Regions from separate parts of the Homo sapiens genome. Here regions 1 and 3 are each linked to region 2. The links are contacts of gene promoters, found by promoter capture Hi-C in blood cells and fetal thymus (Javierre and others, 2016). All regions are on one chromosome and are shown on one strand. Each heading gives the region's core, a stretch centred on a gene start or on the middle of the fragment in contact. The rest is flanking DNA. Distances are from core to core; before and after follow the strand shown. Region 1 overlaps DNM3 (dynamin 3). Region 2 holds the start of C1orf105 (chromosome 1 open reading frame 105). Region 3 overlaps METTL13 (methyltransferase 13, eEF1A N-terminus and K55).

Region 1 (3,619 bases), core at 518-3,017, 550 kb after region 2:
TTGCGAGGCCGAGGGGGGCGGATCACAAGGTCAAGAGATCGAGACCATCCTGGACAACATGGTAAAACTCCGTCTCTACTAAAAATACAAAAATTAGCTGGGCATGGTGGCACGCGCCTGTAGTCCCAGTTACTTGGGAGGCTGAGGCACAAGAATCACTTGAACCCAGGAGGCGGAGGCTGCAGTGAGCCCAGATCGCACCACTGCACTCCAGCCTGGCGACAGAACGATACTCCATCTCAAAAAAAAAAAAAAAAGAGAGACAACTCTTTTTTTAGACTTGCTGGGGTATTTATTTATATCTATTTAATAAACACTGTACTAAGTGCTTTACAAATAGCAACTCACTTAATTCTTAAAACAATGCAGTAAGGTAGGTACTACTATTTTTATAATTTCGCAGATGAGGAAAGTAAAGCCTAGAAGGCTAATTAACTTCCCCAAGGTTGTCCAGGTAGTAAGTGGCAAGGTGAGATTTGAACCCAGGTATTCAGGCTCATTCCAATGCTCTCAAATGCTATGGCACACTCTATTGCCAGTAAATATTTGGTTTACTCCTTCAGATGCCAAATCTAACTTATGTGTCATTTTTACATACTATATTCCAACTCATCTTAAAAAGACAAAGAAAAAAAGGTACAACAGCACAATGAGTTCAATGAAATAATACTGGCTTTTTAAGTAACTTTGGTACAAACAATTCAGACAAAGTAATAATGAACTCTAGAAGTGGCTGAATAAGATGCTGGCAAGCCTGCAGAGGAAAGGGAAGGCTTATACACTGTTGGTGGGAATGTAAATTAGTTCAGCCACTGTGGAAAGCAGTTTGGATATTTCTCAAAGAACTTAAAACAGAACTACCATTCGGCCCAGCAATCCCATTACTGGGCATATACCCAAAGGAAAATAAATTGCTCTACCAAAAAGACACATGCACTCATATGTTCATCGCAGCACTGTTCACAGTAACAAAGACATGGAATCAACCTGGGTGCCCATCAACAGTAAATTGGATAAAGAAAACATGATAGCTACACACCATGGAATACTATGCAGCCATAAAAAGAACAAAATCGTGTCCTTTGCAGCAACATGGACAGAGCTGGAGGCCATTATCCTAAGTGAATTAACACAGGAACAGCAAACCAAATACTGCACGTTCCCACTTATAAGTGGGAGCTAAACATTGGGTACTCATGAACATAAAGATGACAATAGCCACTGGGGGCTACTAGATGGGGAAGTAAAGGAAGGGAGAAGGGCTGAAAAACTACCTACTGGATACTATGGGTACTATGTTCACTACCGGGGTGACAGGATAATTCATACTCCAAACCTCAGCATCATGCAATCTACCCATGTAACAAACGTGCATATATGCCCCCTGATCTAAAATAAAAGTTGACATTATGTTTTAAGGTGGCTGAATAAGTACAAGAGTAGCAAGGCTACTAATCCAGGCTCACTAATCATACATGTGCATTTGCCATGTAATGAACTATATGAATATTATATTTTGATGATAAAAGCATAATAGCCTCAAATACGTCTATAAAAATACAATTTCATCAACTCTACCACTGGATACTTTGTCACTGCAATATCTAAGCCTAAGACTATCACAGATACTACCACTACCAAAACACTGAATTATTTTGACTTGTACCAATGCCACAATTAATTTCATTTCAAGGAATATTTAACTATAAAAACTGCTGGTTTCCCCAATTCTTTGAAATAATTAAGAAATTAATTAAGAGATAATTAACCTAATCAACTAAACTATGCATATGTGTATATCTACACATATCCACATATGTATATATAGATGCATATACATATATGCATATTAGTGACATCCCATTTTAATATCTGAGAAATTTATGTGTGTTTGTATATATGTACATGGATGTGATATCCAATTTTAAAATACAGAAAAACTACCATCTCTAATTAGGAATTGAAAAAACTTAGTTCACATTACAATAAATGTTCAAATGAGTTTCAAGGAAAGAACTGTCTACCGTTTACTAAATAATGTACTCTAATATATACTTCAGCTGTGGCAAGAGGTCTTCTCACATTCCTTTCCTGTGTTCAAGCAACACTTAGAAGAAAAATAGAAACCACTCACTGTAATAATGTCATATCAGAAAAGACTCAAAATGTGCTTCTGGTTTGGATTAGAGCTAAATCCATTAGGAAGTAAAGGAAACAGCTTCTAAAAAGGATTTGATAATATCATCAGGGATACTTATTTTATTGTCATTGAGGGGAAAAAGAAAGGGACAGTATTTTCTTACTTCGTGGAGAACGAGAAAAGAAAAAGCGTACAGTTTTTCGTATGGTTTAAGTCTAATAGTTAAGAACATCAGGCATTTTTACAGTCATTTATCTTGCCATTTGAAACATCAACTCTTGACTGAGGAGATGAGACACAATTAATGCTGTCACCTCCCTCAAGTCCTTGCTTAAATCTCACCTCTTCTTCTTGGACATGCCTGATCCCCCTTACCCTGCTTTGCCTTTCCTTTGGTCCATGGCCCTAATAATCTTGTAATCTGCCACATAATTTACTTATTTACTTTGGGTATTGCTTATCCATCTCCCCAGTTAAAACCTGAGTTCCTCAAGCACAGGAATCTTTGTTTGCTTTATGGCTTTTTTCTAGCTCTTAAAACAGTGCCTGACACACAGTAGGTGTTCAATAAATGTCTGCTGAATTCAGGGTTTTAAATAACCTTTTAAATAATAGTAATATTTTATAGCTAACATTTATGGACCACCTACTACAGGTCAGGCACCATGCTGTACCCTTCAAACCCACTAAAGGAACTCTTCAACACCCTGGGAAATACAGATCATTTTTCTGATGAGAAATGTGTCACTTATAGAGATTGGACAACTTCACAGCTAGTGAAGCTCCCTTCAAGATCTCTTTATCTTATATGATTCAACTTGACTTCTTAAAGAATAGACACCTTTATATCTTACAAATATCCAAATCCATCTGATAACTACAATAACAAAATGTGAGTTAAAGCTAATCAAACACAAGACTCAGACCCCCAGGAGTAATTATGGGATGATTCTGCTCCTCCTTCAATCTTAATAACAACAAAAGAATAACAATTTCTGTAATACTTTACAGTTCATGTTTTTACAAATATTATCAAGTTTGATCTAAACTCTTGAAATACTTTTCACCTGTTATCTTGCTCTTCAACTGACTCGAAAAAGCAAGAGTATCTTGTCCAAATTGGACCTGAATTAAAAAAAAACAAACATTTCTTCAGAAAGAAGGACCTTCTGAGTGGAAATTTCTATAACTTCCAGAGCAAACATCGACTTTCCACATTTTCTCTTACCTACAGATAGGGACTAGGAGAAAAGCAATGTGATTCTGTGGACTCAGACAGAGCACAACCAGGGTCTGGCCAGCATGCCGAGAGACTAGCGGGGACATCCTCTTGGTGTCCTCATTACTAACATCCTGACTTCACTTTCCTAGGAAATGCTAATACAAAAAGAATAAACAAACAATTTGCGCCTAAGAATAGCTTATTCATTCCTACGTACATTATTTTGAAAATATCTAAGGTCCAATATGCCTAGCACT
Region 2 (4,083 bases), core at 1,075-3,574:
GGCCTGGAGTTGGAAACTTTAGAAATCTACCTGGTTTTGTATTCTACTGTGGCTGACCTGGCACCCGAACCACTGAAGTCCTTCCCACCCTTTCCTGCTCTTCCCCAGGCAAAGGAGTTTCTTCTCATGTCCAACACCACCACAGGCCCATGAGGAGTACTGCTGGGATACTGCCAATGTTCACTTAAGGCCCAAGGGCTCTTCTGCCAGCATGTGTTGGATGCTGCCAGGAAAGTGACTTACCCTTCAGGGCAGTGGGCTCCTCTCTGGCCTAGAATAGGTCCAGAGATGCCATCCAAGAGCCAAGGACTGGAATCAGGGACCCAAAGAGCTGGCTTGGTGCTCTTTCCCACTGTGGCTAAGCTGGTACCTAAGCTCAAGACGGAGTCCCCTTTATTCTTCCCTCTGTTCTTCTCAAGCAGAAGTGGTCTCTCCTCGTAGCCACCAGACCTGTGAATGTGCTGGGTCACATCTGAAGCCAGTGCATTTCGGAGTTTCAGCTGAGGCCCACGGTATGTAGTACTTGGCTACTGCTACTGATTTTTCAGGGTCCAAAGGCTCTTTATTCAGCATGTGATGAAATCTGCCAAGACTGGGTCCTTCCCTTCAAGGCAGTTCCCTTTTGGCCCAGGGTATATCTAGAAATGTCATCCAAGAGCTAGGGCCTGCAATGAGTGCCTCAGGATTTTGCCCAGTACCCTATCCTACTCTGGCTGAACTGGTATCCAAGTTGCAAGACAAAGTCCTTTTCACTCTTCCCTCTTCTCTCCTCAAGCAAAGGAAGGAGTCCCTTTTGGAGCCATAAGCTGTGTTGCCTGGGGTTGGGGGAGGGGTGCTGTAAGCACTTACTTAGCCATCCTGGCTGGTGTCTTACTAGATCGTGCGCTCCCCAGTCCACTGGCTCAGAGCCCAGCACAGCACTAGGACTTGCCTGGGTATTGCAGTTGTTGTGGCCCAGACAGGCTTTCAAGTTTATTTAGGACCTCAGAGCACTTTAGCCCATGGTGGTGGAGGTAGTCAAAACTCAGTTTCTGAAACCTGGGATGGGCAATTCTCCTCTGGCTAAGGGTGGTCTAAATGGTCCCTCCATTGGCAACAGCTAAGTTCTGCCCCGTATTGGCAGCACTGAATTCTAGAGTCCCACAATCGCTGTGCCCTCCCTCCAAGTGCACAGATTCTCTCTCCACACTATGTGGCTGCTGCCAGGGGATGGGGGAGGGGTGGTGTCAGCAATTCAAGATTGTCTTTCTTATCTTCCTCAGTGCTTCTTTCAACAATACGAAGTTAAAACCAGGTACTGTGATCACTTTGTGATCACTGATTTTTGGTTCTTATGAAGGTGCTTTTTTGTGTAGATAGTTGTTAAATTTGATGTTCGTGCATGGAGAACAATCAGTGAAGGCTTCTGTTTGGCCATCTTGCTCTGCGTCCTCCCCAACTTAGGATTTTTTTACTTTATCATGGGTTCATCAGGGTATTGCATGCATTTTTGACTTACAATATTTTCAACTTGTGGTGGTTTATTGAGATGTAACCCTATCATAAGTCAAGGAGCACCTGTACTATGGTAATAGAGACAGCTAGTATATCCCTTTAAATAGGAAACATACAGTGTCATAAGCTCAATGTGATTTATTCAGATTTAGACCCTAGTAATTATAAAAGTCTATACAAGTTTTTTTTTCTTTCTCAGCAATCTTAACTTCCTGTGACTGAGATTCATTGTTTTAAAGTGCATTCACAGTTGAGAAGGTTTACTTCAGAATCTCAGGGAACTGCACTAAAGAATCTGGTATCAATTTTCTGAGGATTTAAAAAAATCATACTTAAATGCTGAGTTATAAAAGATGTTGGCAAGTACAACATTTTTTCCAAACTATACGATAAAGAGCATTGAAATTTATCATGCCCCAAACCCATTAAAATTATCTTCACCTGTAACTGAACATCAGCTGTTATTTCCTTACCTTCTTTTGGCTTTCAACTTCTAGGATGTCTGTTGAAACACCCCTCAATGTTTATGTGGCCTCCAAGGCATACAAACATTTACCAGGGTAACCCCATAAGGAAAGAATTGGAAGTTTCATTTATTTTTTTCCTACCTTTAGTTCTCTTTTTTCCATCTTTCAGATCTTTAGATGTTCTGAGTTTTTCTAGCTGGAGACTGGGGAAACCTAGCTCCCCTCACTGTGGCCAGTGGAAGACTGCTGTGGAGAACCTGAATCCAAAGTGTTTTTTGTTAGGAGACGAAGTAAACAGGCCAGTTTACAGTTTCAATACCAGTATGCCTTTTTCTCTACCAACATCTGTGTGATTTACATCTTGAATCATATAATTCCATTCAGAATGAAAAGCTCAGTTTCTGATTGGCTGAAATGAGTTCTAGTATTCCTTTCTTTGTTAGAAGTCAAAATCACAATGTTCTGGAACATTAGCATGTGTTGGGTAAAGTTGATAACAGTATACTAAAACTCAGATAGCTGCTTCAGTACTGAAGTCAGAACAGTTCTCCCTGGAAAGACAACCAAACTTTTCTCTTATTGTAGCACTACATTGTAATTGCTTATTTAGCTATTTTGTAAGCTACTTTTATTCTGTTACTTCTCTGGTATTCCCAGGGTCCAGGACATTATCATGAATTCAAGAAATGTTTGATGCATAAATAAAGGAATGAAAATATATAAGGAATATTATGTTTACTAAAGGCATAATAGTTTGGCTCTTCCTGACTATCCTGAGTTATGATCAACTCTGAAAAAGGGAGTAATTTTTCAAGTCTATTAAACATAGCAGGGTGGAGGTGGAGGTAAGAAGAGTTGGGGAAAGGTATATTATGAAACATAGAAATACTATTTACTAAATACATATTAACAAATCTTAGCATAATTTAATTTTACTCCAGGCTGCCCCCCATCCCTTTCCCCTGCCCTCTTTTTTCTTGCCTATAGAATGTAAGGAAGGGAACACACTTCTTTGTTAAGGAAAACTGAGTAAGGTTGTCATTTCATTCTGTTATGACTGGAGTTTTTCCTTCTCATCATTCATCAGGTCAATTTAAGTTTTATACATCTAAACTGTGTAACACTGCATATAAAAATAAGTCCATGTTTAAGACAAAGTGGAAAAGTACCAAACACTTTTAAAAAATGAATTGAAGAAAACCTTCTCTTTGACAACTTCGGTTTTCATTTGGGGAGGTGGTATGAAATCATCTAGGTACATTTTTGTCTATTGGGATGAAGAATGCTATCCACTAAGAATATTGATTTAAAAATCAAATGCCTGGACTGGAGGGGAAGGAAAGGACAAAAGACTGCATGCTATGTGCTATTTTACATCAAGTCACCTCCTTCCTGCTATACATGAGCTTCAGTTGATGCCTTGGTTTGGAGCCTTTGAACTTTCTTAGTTATCACTGATTTTAAATGGTAGTCACTGGACCGGGGATACAATTAAAATAATGTAACATGCCATATGAACATTTTAAACCAAGAAACTGATTTTTCATTTTTGAGTGGAGAACTCAGTCCTTAAAAAAATTTGTGGTCCGAAGAAACAGCATTACTAATGAGGACTCTCCCTTTTACAACTGGGGGTTCCTGCCCACATCTTCCAAATACCTCCTTTGCCAGGGCTTGCCTAGGTCAGATGTGAAGTAAATAGAACTGATGAATGATTTTTTTGACTCTCTTGTCATGTAGTTTTCTGTCATCTTAATATGCTGAAGGGGAGCACATTCAGAAGTGATCTCATTTGAGAAGGACTACTTTCAAGTTCTATTTTAGGCCACATAAATTTTCAAAAAATAAAATTCTGAATTAAATCTTAAACCTTTGGGAAGGCTTCAGATCACATATTTGGTGGAATGTACTATATTACCTAAATAATAAACATTTTATTTGGATACATCTTTGGGATGCTTGTTAAAAAATTATAGATTAAAATTTTAGTGTTAGAATTACCATTTGAGGATAGAGGAATAAAAAGTTCTCTATTCCTTCAAACTTATATGGACTCCATTTTTCTAGTGCTTTACTGACATCATGAAGAGTCTTTCTTCTCAAGGTGGCAACATTTCCTTGC
Region 3 (3,605 bases), core at 1,097-3,596, 640 kb after region 2:
AAAAAATGTAAAAAAAAAACTAGCCAGGTATGGTGGCTTGCACCTATAGTCCCAGCTACTACCAAAGGCTGAGGTGGGAGGATGGTTTGAACCCAGGAGGTTGAGGCTGAGGCTGCAGTGAGCCGTGATCACACCACTGAACTCCAGTCCAGCCTGGGCAACAGAGCAAGACCCTATCTCAAAAAAGAAAAAAAAGGATCAACTCCTCATCATGAAGTTCTTTTAGTAAAATCACTTGTTCGTTACCCATGGTGACCAGGATAGCACAAGACAGTTGGTGTTAACTGATAATACCATATCACCACTTAGGCAAAAACCTTCGGTTTCCTTCCCAGTAAAACACCTGACCAGCAATGTGAATACCTGGATAACTGTGCTGAGCTGTTTTGGCCCTCTTCCATTTATACCCTCAGATAATGATAGTTCTAAGAAGCAAAATGACCAAGAAAGTCCAGTGTGGAAGGAGAAATCCACAGTCAGAGCAACTCAAATTAGGAAGAACTGAAGCCCGCAATGAGTAGAGCATTTCCATCCTGCCATGTCTATGGACTCTGAGAGGCTCCCCCAGACACAGACGCTACTGTGCTCACTTTCCTCTCATTGCCTGGGGCAAAGGACAGTTTCCCTGCCATTTAACCCTTAGCTGCTGATACCCCTCCAGGATTAGATGAAGAGTCACAGACTCTAGTCCTAGCTCCTGCCAAGGCTCCCTCTGCCTCCCTGGCTGCTAACATGACTTCAGAGACCCATGAAAGCCGTACGAAAGCTTTGTTACCTGCTGCTGGGTGGGCATCCCAGCTGGGGCCAGCTCCATGACTCTAGCCGACAGCTCAGCTTGGATGTGGTCCATGCTTTCATACTGCTGACCTCGGTGAAGGGCCACTGTAATCAACCTCCTGAAGCCAGCACTGGCCGCCAGCTGTTTCCGGCCCTCATCCATGCCAAAGAGCCACTCGGTCTCCCGGCCCTGAGGGACTAGAAAAAAGAACTTGGTTACAGGGAGTCCTGGAAAGTGATCAAGCCCACAACCAATATGGCCCAAACGGCAGGGAGCCAGTCCCTGTCCAAGACCAGCATCTTCCCCAACTGTGACCCACTGAGGAGCTAACAATTCTCTAGTTCACAACATCTAGGGCAAAGCAGCCCATCAGACATAAGGCAGGACCAAGGGTGGAGAAGAAGTGTGGGCATGTCCGTAGGGGAAGGAGGCAGACACCTACCACAAGAAAAACAGCAGTAATGCCAACACAAATAAGCCATGCCAGGCATGACTCCAAGCTGTTGACAAATATATATTAATGGAATCCTCCAACAGTCCAAGATGCAGGTAGTAGTATTATTCCCATTTTTACATATGAGGAAACTGAGAAACAGAAGTTACACTATTTGCCCAACTTCGCACAATAAGTAAATGGTGAAGCTGGGACTCAAACCCAGGCAGTCTAGCCCCAGACTCTACCCACGCTTGTATTCACTGCACTATTTATTTCCACACATGGACAGACAGAATTATAGAATACTTGAAAAACTAGCTCAGTCACCAGGAAACAAATTACCGTAACACCAAGACCATAAACACTTTGCATTTGTCTACAATGTTCCACTTTTGAAAGCACTTCCTCCTACTATCTTTTTTATCCTTATTAAGATAAATCTGATATAACTTACTGCTTTCAGTAATAATGGCTAACATTTACACAGCACTTCCAAGGCCAGGTACCATTTCTAAGAGCTTTTATACTTCTCACAACTACACCAGAGTTACAATCCCATCAAGGCAGAGAAAGAAAAGTAACCTGTCTAATGTCACACCATCAGGAAATGACTGAGCCAAAACTGAAACCCAAACAGTCTGGTTCCAGAGCTCACTTTTTTAGCTGCTACCCTATGCTGCCTCTCCAAATTTTGCAGAGAAGCACAGCAACTTCCCCAGGTCCTGCAGCTCACAGGCTACAGCTGGGACTAGAACCTATGTCTTAGACTTGCTAGTCCAGCATTACTTCCATTACTCCATGCTACAAAGTAACTAGCATCTCTATATCATATGTGACCTCCTAAATTTATCTCTATTCTCTCTCTTCCCTACCAACCCCATTCTCACACTTCATCAAGCCTTTGCAATGGCAGATGAAAAGGAATAGGTCTCAACTCCAAGTAGGTTGCTAGAGAGCTATTACTCTCCTTTCATCATGCCTTGGGTAGTCTAATCCTCTGGAAGTACAAACCCCTGCAAGACAAAAAACAGTCCAGAATCCCACCAAAGCCCCAGCCCAGCCTCAGCCCCAGCCCCAGCCCAAGCCCCAGCCCCTGTAAGCCAGCCCCTCCAGGGAAGAGAGGGAGCAATCCCAACTCACTGATGAAAATCGCAAAATGATTGTCCCGCGATGGTTTCACAGTGGGGCTGTCCACCACGTGGAGGGTGTAGCGTGGCTCCCCCGTGTCCCCATCGCACAAGTCCAGAGACACACTCCCCAGCCTGGCCTTGCGGCGCAGCTGGCTGCACAGCCAGGCATACTGCTGTCGCTCCTGCACCGCCTCGGCCAGCCGCTCGGCACTCTCCAGCCGCACAGGCTTGCGCTGCTCCTGAGCACACAGCTCAAAGATCTGAAGGGCAGAGCCAGGGACTGGCCTGAACTTGGTCATGATGAAGGCAAAGACAGGCAAGGAGAACTGAGGCTCTGCTTCCAACACCTGGTCCTGGCTGTTGGCCACTTGGTGCACCCTCACCATCCACCCCTCCCGGGAGAAGTGGCCCACTGCTTTCTTCAGGATGTGAGCCTGAGCCAGGGAGATGCAGAGATAGCGACCGCCCACCTGCAGGACACGGCCAACCTCAGCCAGCATCCTGTCCACCTGTTGTAAGGTCTTCTCTTCCTCATCTGTCAGGACAGCATCCAGGGTGCCCTTGTCCAACACCACCTGGAACGAGGCATCAGGAAACTCCATCTGCGTCATGTCCATCTTCAAGAAGCTCATCTGGGGCCGTCGGGTGGCATTACATTCCTTCATTTGCTTGATGACAACCTCACTGATGTCGATGTTCACTATATCCCGATAGCCCACATCATACAGTTGCTCACTCAGTTCTGAGTTGCCACACCCAATCACCAGCACCTGGAGAAAAAATTCACAGACAAGAGGGAGGTAATCAAAGCAAAGGACTGTACTTCAGGTACTTCAAGGAATCAAGTCTCACCTTGGCTGAGTCACATTTTCAGAAGGTGGAGACGCTACTGCCAGAGAAAGAGCGACATTGTAGAGTTGATGCTAGACTCTATCTTGAAACACCACATATACTTGCTAGTGAAAACCACATTCAGCTACAATACAGGTTATATGAGAATGGGCTTTGTGTTGCAGAAACAAATTAATCATAACTGTTCTTTTCTCTAAATCATGCACTTATTACTCAGGAATTAATAGGAAGTCAGAGAATCCAAATATAGAGTTACAGTTGAAATCCTAGGCCAGGAATAACCCTATTTCCTCACTCTACTCATGCCTTTGGCTCCTTTAGACAATAAAGTACACTTTGTGAGGATTCAAATCTTACTTCCATCACGGATTCCATCTCATGATATTTGGCTATCTTCTGAAGCCGAACT

Evidence for each region. The method cuts DNA at HindIII sites, captures the fragments that hold promoters and counts their contacts. A CHiCAGO score of 5 or more calls a contact.
Region 1: a contact is called between a fragment that was not itself captured here and the fragment with the promoter of C1orf105 in region 2, in 1 of 17 cell types (M1 macrophages). The highest score is 6.1, in M1 macrophages.
Region 3: a contact is called between a fragment that was not itself captured here and the fragment with the promoter of C1orf105 in region 2, in 2 of 17 cell types (naive CD4 T cells and activated CD4 T cells). The highest score is 7.0, in naive CD4 T cells.

Annotation. Positions count from the first base shown.
Region 1 is chr1:171,872,452-171,876,070 of GRCh38, reverse strand. All of the region lies in intron 1 of DNM3 (dynamin 3), which reads right to left. Among named protein-coding and RNA genes, the nearest start is that of DNM3-IT1, 10 kb to the right of the region's middle. The HindIII fragment of the contact is 4,009 bases long and covers 1-3,619 here.
Region 2 is chr1:172,418,926-172,423,008 of GRCh38, reverse strand. C1orf105 (chromosome 1 open reading frame 105) reads right to left here and starts at 2,324. Exons shown (of 7, transcript NM_139240.4): 1 at 2,103-2,324. The coding sequence starts at 2,123. LOC102724528 (a long non-coding RNA gene) reads left to right here. Exons shown (of 3, transcript XR_001738294.3): 1 at 1-512. The HindIII fragment of the contact is 10,347 bases long and covers 1-4,083 here.
Region 3 is chr1:171,783,249-171,786,853 of GRCh38, reverse strand. METTL13 (methyltransferase 13, eEF1A N-terminus and K55) reads right to left here. Exons shown (of 8, transcript NM_015935.5): 2 at 2,355-3,114; 3 at 776-975. Among named protein-coding and RNA genes, the nearest start is that of METTL13, 3.4 kb to the right of the region's middle. The HindIII fragment of the contact is 3,155 bases long and covers 769-3,605 here.